Linked DNA regions of Homo sapiens: regions 1, 2 and 3 are each linked to region 4. Evidence: promoter capture Hi-C in 16 types of primary human blood cells and fetal thymus (Javierre and others, 2016). All regions are on one chromosome and are shown on one strand. Each heading gives the region's core, a stretch centred on a gene start or on the middle of the fragment in contact. The rest is flanking DNA. Distances are from core to core; before and after follow the strand shown.

Region 1 (3,602 bases), core at 68-2,567, 1.9 Mb after region 4:
TGGGAGGCTGAGCCAGGAGAATTGCTTGAACCTGGGAGGCGGAGGCTGAAGTGAACCGAGATCACGCCATTGCACTCCAGCCTGGGCAACAAGAGTGAAATTCCATCTCAAAAAAAAAAAAAGAAAGAAAGAAAGAAAAAGAAAAGAAATTATTACACCTGCCATCACTTCTCTTCTACATCATGCTAGGAATTAAAAAGAATGCATCATTTTGTTGCTTCAGAAAATCTCCTGCATTCTTGTCTTTGTATTTTATCAATTGATTAGGGCTTTGGGGAGCTGAGCAAAGTATAGAACATATCCAACCCAACCTCTGCCTTACAAGAACTTACTTCCTAAAGAAGAAAGCTTTCTCAACATGGTAAAGAGGAAGATAAGTGCTCTGCAATACAGAATGTAGATGTTACATAGTTGGTCAGTGGAAGAGCAGAAGGAATATGTGCTAATGTTAGGACTTGGTTTAAGTTTTTCTTCGTTATGAAAGGCAGTAGTATTACAGATCGTTAACATAGTTATGCTAGGTCTAACCATCGTACATTAAGATAGAAACAAGTGTTTTGTATAATCAAGATCTCAAATCATGATTTAATTTTTTAGCCATTACATGTACAATTAATATTCAAACTTGATCTGAAAAATAACATTAAAAATAACAGATAACACTGAATTCATTTAAAAGTAGACATTTAAAATAGTATAGTACACTTTTTTTTTTTTTAAGAGACAGGATCTCCCCATGTTGCCCAGGCTGGTCTCAAAACTCCTGGGATCCTCCTGCCTCTGCCTCCCGAAGTGCTAGGATTACAGGCAGGATCCACCACGCCTGGCCCTTAAAATAGTATAGTATACTATCTACTAAACTAGATTGTGTTTAAAAGTCACTTGGCCCTATCATGAAACAGTTTGGGGATTTGTTTTTAAGTGAAAACAACTATCCGTAGAAGTGAGAAGTCAGATAAAATAGCATTTGTTTTCTTTTGTGAGCTTTCTCCTTCCTCTGCTTCTTCTAAGAACTTTGTTGAGCATGTCTAAATGGTCAGATGCTGGGCTTCGTGCTCTCCTCAGCTTAGCTTCTCATCACCTGCAGGAATGGCAGAGCAGTGTCATCTCACTCTGTCTTCTGATTGCTCAAGAGGAATCGTGTGTGTGTGTGTGAAAGTGAAATCTTCCAGTTTTGCAATGTCAGCTTCCCATTCAAAAGTGCTTAGGACACCGTGAAAGCCACATCAGCGGGGGTGAGGGAGCCAGTGCAGGGCTCCCGGGCTTCCAGTTTGTGGCCTCTGAATGAAGGTGTGGCCCCTGGTAAGATACAAGCACTGCTGGGAAGCCTAACACATCGAACAGTTATTAGCCATTGACACCTCTGCATGGCTTGTTTTCTGTGCTTCTCCCCAGTACTAGCTGCTCCCAAGAAGGTTTCAAACTAGGAACAAGGTGAAGTGGAGAGTATAAAGATGAGAGAAGTCCAGGAAGGGTATAGCACACCTGGTAGGGAAGACCCCCAAAATCGCTGCTGCAAAGTCAAGAGGAAGATTTTAGCAATCATACTGATTATCTAATGTGTGTAGCAACACCCCACTGGATGCCTGAAGTACAGAGATTAGTAGGATATGGTCGCTAATATTATACAGCGTGAAGTTTAATAGGAGGGAGAGAGATGCACAGAAATCATGAGTGTGCATTGCAGCATGAGAATGGATGATACAAATGTTGAAATCATTCATTTCAGCACTTAAATGTTTCCTAATGACATACAGTATGCCTGGAACCTTCAAGACATCAGGATAGACAAAACAGACAATCTCTGCCTGTAAAGATGTTACAGTCTAGCAGGAGAGCTGGCAGTTTTCAAATTGTAGAAATACAATCATGCATCACTTAACAGGGATACTGAGAAATGCGTGTCTGGACATCTTCAGCCACCCTAGAGTGTACCCACACAAGCCTAGATGGCATAGCCTACTACACGCCTAGGCAGCATGGTGTGGCCTATTGTTCCTAGGCTATAAACCTGTGCAGTGTGTTACTGTACTGAATACTGTAGGCAGTTGCAACACAGTAGTAAGTATCTATGTAGGTAAACATAGAAAAAGGTACAGTAATAATATGGTATTGTAATCTTATGGGACCACTGTCATATATGTTTGTTGTTGGCCAAATTGTCAGTATGTGGTACTTGACTAAGTATTTAATGGCAATGATAATAAATGCGACAAAGGAACTATGGAGACTATGGTAGCATAATAGGGACACCTCACTTACTCATGAGGAATAAGAAAAAGCTTCCCTGAAAAATTACGACTAAGCTGAGATTTGAAGAATAATGTGGAGGGTGGGTGGGAGGGGTATTAGTGACACCAAGGGGGTTGTAAGGGTGTTGCTGGAGGAGGGAGAGACTCTGAGAAGGCTCTGAGGCAGGGAAGCTCTTGGATGTTTGCGAAACTGGGAGGATTTGAAGGATGGGGTTGTCAGGGTGTATCTAGTGAGGGCAGAGCAAGCCAGAAGAGTAAGCAGAGAGCAGGTTGAGCAGGACTTGTAGACCTTCTTGGGATGTCTGACTTCATCCTCAGACCATGTCGCCAGTTGAGAGCTTTAAGCAGGGTGAGAGGGACAAGCCAGTTGCCGCATGGCATGTACAGTGAGAGGGGCTGTCGTGTAAGCAGTGGCTGGTTAGGGGCCTCTGCAATAACCCAGCAAAACTGAAGAGTGTTGGCTTATGAGCTATGCGAGGTGACAGTGGAACTAGAAGGAAGTGGTGGCTTTTGAGAAACGGGCTGGACTGGCCCTGATATTGAATTGCATTGGAAAGAGAGGGAAGTGTGGAAGACGATGCAGGGCTCTGCTATCAACTAGCCGATGGTCCACTTACCAAGGTAGGGAGCACCAGAGGGGTAACAGTCTCGAGGAATGGATGGAAGTTTTCATACTAGGTGAGTAGAGTTTCAGATGTGAAATGGGCAGGAAGATGGGTGGGCCTGATTCTCGGAAGAGGGGGCTGGGTTGGGAGTCATGGGCATCTGGCGAGTACAAAGGCCACGGAGTTCCCAGCATGAGTGTGAACAGTGAGAAGTGTCCGGGAGCAAGCCCTCGGGGGAGCCCTCGCTCACTCCCTTCTCCCAGCAGCAAGTGCAAAGGAACAGTGTCACTGACCAGGGCTCTCGCACTGTCTGGCACACAATCACCGAAGTTTCCAAGCCAGTACATTTTATTTTTATGAATACAACATAAAGCCAGAAACATTCCCAGCCTCATTGTTTTCCAGAAAAGCATCTACCAAACTCAAATGATATTCCTAACCCCTAAACTTATCACAATAGTTACGCTTTAATGCGCTACGTCTACTAACAAAGCCAGATACATTGCCCTCCTCCAATACAACAAAGTCCCCCTGATGGGCATGCCACAATGTACGCCCAACTTTACTGGGTGATCATTTTTGTCCAAGTGCATATATTTCATCATTAAAATGTTAAAAAACAAATATTTAAATTTCTCCCTTTTTTGCCTCCATATGGCTGGTTAATATATCTGAATAACAACTGAGTAGCTTTCTTTTATCCCTTTGAGTACAAGGAGCTTGGAAGATACTCCTTTCTGACTCC
Region 2 (3,260 bases), core at 63-2,562, 1.5 Mb after region 4:
CTCCTTACTTTGAGCCTATCTTTTGTTTTTTCTCGCCTCCCATTAGGGTCTCAACTTTTCTCCCAGAATAAAGCAGCCCAGCCACAGTTCCCTAATGGACCAGATTCCTGCTGGTGTGGTGAAGCCTATCAAAAACAAATTTCCCGTCTACACAATGACATCGGAGTAAGGGGCTGTCTGCAGCCAGCTGGTAAAAGGTAGTGGTATACGCTGTGGTCATATTGTCAGGAGAAGTGAAACAAATCCTCTATATTTCTATATGCAACTATATTTACATATTTTCAATTAAGTACAATTTAGGACATCTAACAAGAGTTGAAAAGCTCCTCTCTAAACGAAGCCTAGCGTTACGGAGTGTGGGGCAGGACACAGAGGCAGGGAGCTCCTCCTCAAGGAAGCTGCATGTCTATCAGGAATGAAATGTAATACAAGGGAAATTAGCAATCTGGAAGTTTAAAAAAATCCAAGTTAAGGCGACTAAGGATGCCTGCAGAGAAAAGATGGCCATGATACAACGTAAGCAGACATACACGGCAGATGTACAAAGCCACCAAATTAAAGTAGAAAAAAACAGATAACAAAATCTACACATTAAGGCGTTGGTTGCTGCTCCTGCAGCACTGATGGTCTTTATCCACCACAGAAGGCGGCATGCCAAGCTGACGAGAGCACAGGCTGAGGAGTCAGATAGCCTGGACGGACCCCAGCTCTCAAGCAATGTCCCCTTGACAAGGACATCCTGAATCCAACCATTTTCATCACCTCCACTACCCTCATTCAAGTGATCACTCTCTCTTGCCAAGACGTCTCATTTCCACGCAGTCCTTTCTCCACCTAGAAGCCAGAGTGACTTTTTGCAAAAAACAAATCAACGTAGGCTCCTCTCTTGCTCACCGTCATTCTATGGCTTTCCGTCAGAGTCAGAAGAAACATCTCTACATGCCCTGTGTGGTCTACCTTACTTCTCTCTTCACTCCAAGCCCAAATGACCATATTCCATTCCACTCCCACTGCTCCATCACCAACGGCTCTGCCAAGTCCATGTTGGCCTCGTGTTCCGTCAACCATTCCAGGCAGTGCTCTTCCCAACACATTTTCACGGCCCTGGCCTTCCCTTCATTCAGATATCTGCCATTTCCTCACAACTTCTGGGAGAAATGGGATGTGTTCATTATTTTAATTATGGCCATGGTTTCAAGGGTTTATACTTCTGTCAAAACACATCACACTGTACACTTTAAATATGTGCAATTTATTTTATGTTAATTATGCCTCAATAAAACTGTTTTTTAAAAGTCTTATTCTTAAGAGAGATTTTCCCTAACCTTGTATGCACAATCGTCCAGCCCCTTCCTGCTCCCATTCTCTCTGGTTGTCTTCCTCTTTCTGCCTCTTTTCCCAACATGGCATTACCATGCACAGTAGTTAGTTTATTTACTTATCATCTATCTTTCCCTGAGGGTTAGCCTCTGTCTCCAGGATCTAGAACAGTGGCTGCTACCCAGAAAGCGCTCGACAAGTATTTGGCAGTAAACAGGTGGGTAACTTGGGCCAGTTCCTAAACTCCCTGTGCCCAAGTGCTTCTCCATGAGCATGACAGCGCAGCACCAGGGGCTGTGGTTGGGATTAAAGGGATAATATCAGGGATGGCATAGAGCACAGTGCCCAGCACAGGCCAATTGCAAGATACTCATTAGCTACCAAAGGTTCATAGAGAGTATCATAAATTTGAGGAAATTCACTGCTAAGTTATCTAGTCCTTTTATTTTTAATGAGTTAGTCACTGCTTTGCAATAATCAAGTATTTTCTTCTCCTTGCCTCCCAAGCTCCTGATCAATAACTGTTGATGCCTCATTAGTAATAAGGGGCAGGGGTCTTACTTTTGAATGACAGAAGCTGAGAAAACTGCTTGCAACACCTTTGCAGTTATTCTAGCAATACTTCATAGAGCTGTGCCAGGGATCACTACTTTGTATGTATTTTCTAATTTCTAACTTAGTATGTTTTCATCTGCTCTATGAAGTACGATCAGAAGTTTCCTAGAATTACTGTTTTTTTTTTTGTCAGATCCTGTTCTGTATGATGGTTTTATTCTCCAATTAACTTTGGTGTATCTGTTAAATATTCCAAAAATCATAATCTTAGAAATTATCTTATTTTACTTTTCATTTAGAAAGTAAGTTATTTCTAAAAATTAATACCCATAAAAAACACACAGACTATGAAAATGAATCAAAGTTAATGATTTAGATTAAAACCTACATACAAAGAGGGAATAAATCTGCAAATATGAAGCTCAACAACAGAGGAAATAAAATAATTTTGAAATAAAAATGCCATGTTTAAGGTTATTTTCTGGTAGTTAAGCAATCTAGGGATGCTATGATGATGATCAAGGAAGCAGCAGCAAAGCAGTGTGTCAAAGGCATGCAATCAATGAGAAGACGAGGCAGTGAGAGGCAGAAGGGTCAACATGAACGTACTGAGAACTCACGCTCAGTGTTCTGCAGTTTGCCAATTTTCTACAAGATCTCTGTGCAAAACAGTTTAGGCAAATCAACAGAGGGACAATGTTGACTTAATGAGTCAAGAAACCAAGAACAGGGAGGAGAGAAAGTGAAGGGCTTGGCCCCACACCAAGGGCAAGCCTTTGTTACTCCTGCCTTCCCTTCTCATTGCCTTGTGGGGATTTCCACTGTTTACAAGTAATTGGTGCAGTGAACATGTTCTGCTTACGTCTATTTAAAATGTCTGTATCATAGAGAAAAAAGAAAAGTTCAGTACATTTGAACATTTGGAGGCACTGGGGGTATCACAGTAGTAGTGGTCATAATAGAGAAGTTATTTAGACTCTTGTGTGCTGCCCTGCTACCACATGAAGGGAACTAAGACTATTATTCTTCATTGTAATATTTAATATGTGCCCATTCCAGAATCAACAAAAGGAAAAAAAAAGTTGCATCTGAAAATATTAAAATCCAAATTTTGGCAGCAAATTTTCAGTTGAGACAATCAATTCGGTCCCAGTAAAGGCAGTAGCAAAAGGTCAAAACAAAATCATTAAAGAAGTTTCTAAAGCTTCTAGAAGCCTCATTAAAAACCATATCCTGTTAAAAGTATGAAAACCCTGGAGAGTCAGGTGAGAGAGCATGAAGCATGTGTGTTGGGAGTATTCCCATTAGCAAGAAAATGGGAGACCTCCCTGGGTTTAGAGAGAACTTAATTCCAAAGCTTCTTAACGCGCAGCAAAACAGACAGG
Region 3 (3,547 bases), core at 100-2,599, 1.9 Mb after region 4:
GAGAAACCACGTATCTACCAAAAACACAAAAATTAGCCGGATGTGGTGGTGCACTCCTGTAATCCCAGCAACTCAGGAGGCCGAGGCAGAAGAATCGCTTGAACCAGGAGGCGGAAACTGCAGTGAGCCGAGATGAGCCACTGCACTCCAGCCTGAGTGACAGAGCAAGACTCTGTTTCCAAAAAAAAAAGAAATCTAAAAGAACACTATCACAGACTGGAGAGACCAAGGAGACATAACAAAATACAATGTGGGATACTGGGTTGGATCCTGGACCAGAAAAAAAGGATATCAATGGAACCATTGGTTAAATTCAAATAAATGTTTTAGATTAATTGTTACCAATTGCCTGGTTTCAATGATTGTATTATGGATACATGAGAACAACAGGAGATGCTGGCCAAAAGGTATATACATAGGAACTTTCTAGACTATTTTTGCAATTCTTTTTTCTAAAATTATTTCAAAGTAGAAAGTTTTAAAAAGTCATTTCAGATGAAAGATAAAAAGACAAAAGGGAGGGATTATTGACTCTAACATAAAAATATGCTATCTCTAACTTCTGTGCTAAAAATGTTCAATAACTACAAATAAGGATTAAGCTGGAATAAATAAATTACAATTGTTCAGGAAGAGCCTGTGATTGGGATACTCTAGAGAACAGAGTAACTCTCCAGGGCACTGAAGTCTTTCCAGATAAATGACCTATGTTATTTCCCCCTTACTCTTTTAATCCATTTCAACTCATTTATTTGTCATCTACTATGTGCATGTAAGTGTGCTAGGGCCTGATGAGATTTTTATATATAAGAAGGGATTATTTAAGTACACAAAATAACAAAGAAAAGTACAGAGTCACAAAACCAGAACTAATTTTTCACTCCTATACACTCTAGCAATCAATCTGGACACCCTTTCACAGAAAACGTTGCTAAGACTGGGCCTCACAGCACAAACCCAGCCCCGTCAATGGCCAGTGGTCGTGACAAACAGAATTAGCTCCAAATTTACGACTGAAAATGCCACAGTGACTCTGTGAGAAATACTCCATTTCTTTTTTTTTTTCCCCCATCTAATCACTATGTGCATTTCTTTTTTCTAACATAAAATTAAAGAACTAGATTATCCGAGTACTAGGGAAAAGGTTAGTCTGGTATAAACCTGGGAAGGTTTACTTAATCTCCTCTTACAAGCGGCCTGAGAGATCAACGCCACATCAGGTGATGCTGAGGCTACAGAAGTGTGGTCTCAGGACTGGCAGCTGCAAAGTCACCCCGGGAACCTGTGAGAAATGCAGATTCTTGAGCCCCAGCCCTGGCCTGCTGAGCCAGTTTCTGGTTGATGCCCAAACCCTCTGGGTGACTCCGATACACATTAGGATTGAGAACCACCAATGGAGGAGCAAAAAGACCAGCCATGAATCAAGAGGCCTGCTTCTAATCCTTGTTCTACAACTAATCTCTGAGACTGACGAAACACCTGCCTCCTGTAGGGCACAGCTTTCCTAGTAGACGATGAGGAGTCGGAATAGGGTTGCCACAATCCTCATTCCCTCTAAAAGGTGATAACCCTACGGTAGCAGTCATTCCTCTAAGGCCTGAAAGTGAAAAGACCACCCCTAGTATTTCACCAGATGTTTCTCTCTTTCATCAAAGTGAAATAAGTAAAATTTCCTCATCAACTAGTCTCTGAATTACACCGGATATATCTAAAATTATTTCTTCTATTTTAAATAAAATTGCATTTACTTTGCTTTAGCTAACGCCATCTAAACTCTAATTTAACCATTTCTCCTATTTAATTCTATATCAAGTCTACTTTGAAATAATTCCAAAAATTCCAAGAAAACTGACACTCAAATGTCTCCTCAGGTGTGCCGACATAATAAACTCCACCACAGTTCAGGACTGTGCTCTGTGTCGTCACATAAAGAATATGTGTGATGACATCACAAGAAATAAAACAAGTATGAAAATCAAAGAATTTTTACATGTTTAGATCTAGGCTGGGTGCAGTGGCTCACACCTATAATCCCAGCACTTTGGGAGGCTGAGGCAGGAGACATTGCTTGAGTCCAGGAGCTCGAGATCAGCCTGGGCAAGACCCCGTATCTACTCAAAATATATTTAAAATATATTTTTTGAAAAATATATAAATGTAGGTATCTCCATTATGTCATAAGAAACTGGTTCTTTCCAGATTTTCTTCATAATAGTTCTAAAAAGCACCTTTCCAGATAGAATTCAGCATTACACACATGATGAGCTTCAACCTGAAACTCATTACAAATCAATTGCTGCATTTTTTTCACATAGCAGATTTCCAAATTTTATTTTTAAGATCACCATGTAGCTATTAAATACAAAAATGATCTCCCAGAAGTTTTTCACCTGTTTCCTTAAACTGCTCTCATTTATTTTCTGGAAAAGCTCTTCATGTCCACATCAAGCCCAGGCCCAGGCCCGCCGCTAGTGATCCCTGACAATCTGAAGGGTTAGGGCGCTTTGGCGTGAAACCATGGCCTCTTTCCTCTCCAAAAGTTCACAGAAACATATTATTCTGCAGGTAATTTCATCGGGCTTAGGAAGTCAGGAAAAGCTCTGATGAAGAACCCAAGGACCGCAGTCTCCACCGACGGTCCAGGAACTAGAATCTCCTTGCTTGTCACACTAGTCCAACACTAACACACACAGACGTGGGCTGGGTTTTTGCTGGTTTGGCTAGTTAATGACGTACCTTTCTAGTATACCAATGTGTGTCCCACAATTATATCTTACTGGGTTCATAATAAAGTTAATTTTTTAAGTTTAAAAAAATGTGGTTTTCATAGAAATCCTATAAAAAGTTATATAATTCCCTACTTTCTTAACATGTATATAGAATATAATTTCATATTTTCTTGACGATTCAGGGTAACAACTGCTGTGCTGGACAGAAAACCTTAACTGCTATGTATGAGGAAACAAACTTCCTATGATTTTTTGATTTTTTAATTTTTTATTTTTTTCAAACTCCGTATTATGCTATGTGCTTAATTCATGGCATGGGCAGTACTGTTCTGACCACTGCTGGATAACAGCTATAACAGAGTGAGGGCTGGCTTTGTCAGCTCCTGGATGAAGACTTATCCACATTCCACCAATTAGCACTCACACAAAAGCTACAAGATAATACGCATTTCATAGTGAAGTTACTGAGGCTCAGAGAGATGAAGAGACTTACCTGAAGTCACACAGCTAGGAGCTGCAGACAGCAGATGCAAGGCCCATGCTTCCCAGTCCTTATAAGATTAGGAAATGGACTGGAGACCTCACTAAGTAGCTGGGGGTGAAGGAGGTGCTCTTCAAGACTGAAGTCACCGCCGGAATGTCTCTTACCCTAGAAATGGCCCCGGGAAGGCAGACCCCAAATATCAAGAGAATGCACTCCATTTCTTTCTTGGTGTGGCAAACGGTGAGTGAAAAGGTTAACAAAACCCTTTCCCTGATACATGAAAATTAGACTGTTAGTTAAACCATCTGGCTCTGTTCCCTCTGGTAACCTAATA
Region 4 (3,178 bases), core at 519-3,018:
GTAGGTTTACAGGACTGATATTCATTCCAAAATCCTACCAAAAAGCTATTAAAGTGTCTTCAAATTTTAATCTTTGTTGTTACCTACATGTATGTAATAATATGTGTATACAAGGACATTTACGGCTTTGTAATTAACTGAATTTGGGGATACTTTCTTTGTGCATTTTCACAGTGTACTGAAATGAATGGTGGGCACGTCAATACTTTTCGGTGAATCAGACTTAAACGTGATTGCTGAAGAATACATCCCACTTAGGCATTCATGCTGAAGCCAGCAACAATTGTCCGTGACCTTTAACATGCCCGCTCTCCAAATCAGTGCAGGTCGTTAGTCACACGGAGCTTACATTTGAGGACTCGCGGATCCTTCATAGCGGAGGTTGTCCCTGTCTTTCTGCCTGACTCCCCCCCGCCCCCCGACCCCGACACACACTCCCCACCGCCCCCAGAAACATCACACATGCAGAATGCCCCCCCCGTCTGATCGCCAGCTTTCGGGCACATGCGCCTCCCTTTGCAGCGCGTCTGGAGTAGTTTCTTTTGTAAACGCCCTAAGTTGGGGAGGGCCGCGGGCTGCGAGTGTGAGGCGCAGAGAGAGACGCCGCCGCTGAGGTAACCGCCAGGATTGCAGCGCTGATTGCTACGCGGAGCCACGTTGGGCGTCTTGGACGGAATCCACCTCCACTGCGGAGTTATCACGAGGAGAAGGAGAACAATACGGCCAGGAGCCTGGTGGGAGAAGATAGTGTTACCCCTCCGCAGGCCGCAGCTCCCCGGGTCTACGTCACCGGCCGTGAAGGGGCGCTCGCCCTCGCTAGCTCCGACCCGCCCCTCCCCCGCCCCCGCGCGCCCGCCCTCCCCTCCCCCACCCCGGCCATCCCTGCCCTGTAACAGGAGAGCGTTTTGGAGTCAAATTAGGATTTCTAGTCCCAGACTCAACTTATTACAACTAACTACTGCTCGTGGGGAGTAGGTGAGGTGAAGAAATGAAGTTTTAAGAACAGAAAAATAAGAGTTGAACTTTCGAGGCTACCGGTAAACAACCCCTTCATTTTTAAATGGCCGGGTGGCAGAGCCGCTGTTTGAAGTCTTTCCAGCGGGACCTCTGTGACCCTTGATTCAGGACTTAATGTATTGATCCTGCATCTGAACACCCCCAGAGGCATTTACCAGGAAGTTGAGTGACACGCACACGCTACGCCGTGTGTAATGCACACGCACCTGGGACCCCCGAAGGGGTGTCCCCATTTCAGTCCAGATGGGGCGCAGTGCCCAGGTACCCGCCGGCGGGACCCGCATCCCGAGCACGTCTGTACGTATGGATGCGCGTGTGCGCGCGGAAACGGCCTCCGGGAGCCGGGGCTGCAGCAGCCTTAGACCTTGACGAGGGGCGACCACTGGCCGCTGGAACCGTGATTCAGTGCTATTAGGGGAGGAATTGGCTGTGTCTGAGTCACTGCAAGCCTCCAGACTGTCCCCTCAGTGTGGCAGAACTTTGTGCTGATGAGACAATAGTGGAGTGTGCGTTTCCTACAGGGCAGACCATTTCCAGGCTGGGGGAAGCCTCCGGCCTGCGCCGGGCCGTGAGCGCCCGGCCCCCTCCCCGTGCCGCGCAGCCCCCCGAGCCCGGCTCGCGCCGGGGCCCCCGCGGGGCGGACGCGTCCGGGGCGCGCGCGGGCGGCGCGAGGAGGGGGCCGGGCGCGTGGCGGGCCCCGCGCGCCCTCGCGCGTCCCCCGCGCCCGGGCGCAGCTGGCGCGGTCGGTCTAGTGCAGCGCTCGGCTCCGCGCCGCGGGCGCTCGGCTTCACCTTCAGATGCGCGGGGCGTGCGCGTCCTCCTCCCCAGGCCCGCCGCCTCCCTGCCAAGGTAGGGGCCGCGGGCGGGGGGAGGGCTGCGCCGCAGGGGCCGCGGGCGGGCGGTGGGCGCGGGGCCCGGAGCCCCGACGTGCCCCGTACTCTGGTGTGCGCCGCTGGGGGTAGGGGGGGAGGCGCTGGGGAGGGGGGTGCGCCGGGGAGGGGCCCCCCGGGCGCGGGGAGGGCTACTTGGCTTTCCCGGTGGGTAGTTGCTCTGCTCGTCAATTCCAGGATAGGGGAAGATGCAACTTCGGGCGGCGGGGCGAGCGCCCGGGAGGTGGTTTTTACCGCAGTGGAGGGGCGGGGTGGGGGCCGGGGTGGGAGCGCGGAAGAGGCTCTGGCTTTGTACACTTTGTCAAAGGCGACGCGGGAGGAGGGGAGCTCGGATGCGCTCTCCATCCATTAGGAGACAAAGAGCAAATTGCCTTACTTTAAAGTAAAACGCTCCGGCTAATGAAGGTGGGTGATGGGGCTGCGGGCCCGAGGAGCCGCTTCAATTATTAAGGGTTTGGCGGATGGGATCGATGCCTGTGGGCACCGCGCGCTGCTGCCTAGGGGACGTGTTTGCGTGGAGGTGGGGGTGGCCTTGTTTTTTACGGCCCCCTCCCCGGCTGCTTGCCAGTCTGCTGGGAGCTTCTAAGTGACCCTAACGTTAAAGAAGTGAGAGGTCCTGGAAGGGAAGTTCGGGCGGGGGTGGGGGTGGGGGCGAGGGTCTGGCACCGACTCGGAGAGGGGTGGGCAGGGACTCCTCGGAGCTGCGCCCCGCCGGGTGCGGGTGGGGGAGGCCTCGGTGGCGAGATGAACCCGGGTGTATGAAGGAAGAATGCGGTGGGGTGTGTGTGGTTGGGCGGGAGGTGGGGGGAGGCGCCTCCGCTGCCATTTCCAGGGAGAACTAACAGACTGAATAGTTACGATCAGTATTTAGATTAAACCGCCTCAAGTTTTAACGAAACTTTGTATGAATAAGTTTGTTAAATGGCAGCCGAGTGGGGTATTTAAAAGCAGCAGTTTATGTGTGTGGTGAGGAAAGCCAGTGGACCCCCGCAATTAGGGACCAGAGGGAACCAGCCTTTTACCCGAAAAATGTGGGTCTGTAAGTCAGCCTCATCTATTATCAGCGTTAATAAGCTTCCCGCAGCAGACCGGGAGCTCTGGGGGCTGTGTGTGTGTCTTACTCATTCCGCTGATAAAGAGTCACCGGGTCTCCGGGTGTGCAAAGATCAACTTGCGCAGCCCTCTTTTTAAATATATTCATTCTGTGCTTTATTTAATCCAGATGCACAAAAAGCCATTTGCTGCTGCATTGTTGGTTTACATTTTTTGAA

Evidence for each region. Contacts are between HindIII fragments. The CHiCAGO score rates a contact against its expected background, and 5 or more counts as called.
Region 1: a contact is called between a fragment that was not itself captured here and the fragment with the promoter of ZNF516 in region 4, in 4 of 17 cell types (M1 macrophages, monocytes, M0 macrophages and 1 more). The highest score is 12.6, in M1 macrophages.
Region 2: a fragment that was not itself captured here is called in contact with the fragment with the promoter of ZNF516 in region 4 in 1 of 17 cell types (M0 macrophages); the score reaches 5.3 in M0 macrophages.
Region 3: a fragment that was not itself captured here is called in contact with the fragment with the promoter of ZNF516 in region 4 in 1 of 17 cell types (fetal thymus); the score reaches 5.6 in fetal thymus.

The regions. Positions count from the first base shown.
Region 1 is chr18:74,586,798-74,590,399 of GRCh38, reverse strand. CNDP1 (carnosine dipeptidase 1) reads right to left here. Exons shown (of 12, transcript NM_032649.6): 12 at 3,188-3,602. Among named protein-coding and RNA genes, the nearest start is that of ZNF407-AS1, 9.2 kb to the left of the region's middle. The HindIII fragment of the contact is 1,934 bases long and covers 351-2,284 here.
Region 2 is chr18:74,950,696-74,953,955 of GRCh38, reverse strand. The region is part of intron 8 of ZNF407 (zinc finger protein 407); the gene reads right to left. Among named protein-coding and RNA genes, the nearest start is that of PTGR3, 260 kb to the left of the region's middle. The HindIII fragment of the contact is 3,539 bases long and covers 1-3,081 here.
Region 3 is chr18:74,604,999-74,608,545 of GRCh38, reverse strand. The region is part of intron 1 of ZNF407 (zinc finger protein 407); the gene reads right to left. Among named protein-coding and RNA genes, the nearest start is that of ZNF407, 8.9 kb to the right of the region's middle. The HindIII fragment of the contact is 5,749 bases long and covers 1-3,547 here.
Region 4 is chr18:76,493,832-76,497,009 of GRCh38, reverse strand. It overlaps ZNF516 (zinc finger protein 516), which reads left to right and starts at 1,768. Exons shown (of 7, transcript NM_014643.4): 1 at 1,768-1,866. It overlaps ZNF516-DT (ZNF516 divergent transcript), which reads right to left and starts at 1,671. Exons shown (of 2, transcript NR_164145.1): 1 at 1,224-1,671; 2 at 1-731. It overlaps ZNF516-AS1 (ZNF516 antisense RNA 1), which reads right to left. Exons shown (of 2, transcript NR_136504.1): 2 at 3,092-3,178. RefSeq lists silencers at 1,659-1,718, 1,849-1,948, 2,649-2,738. The HindIII fragment of the contact is 7,170 bases long and covers 1-2,983 here.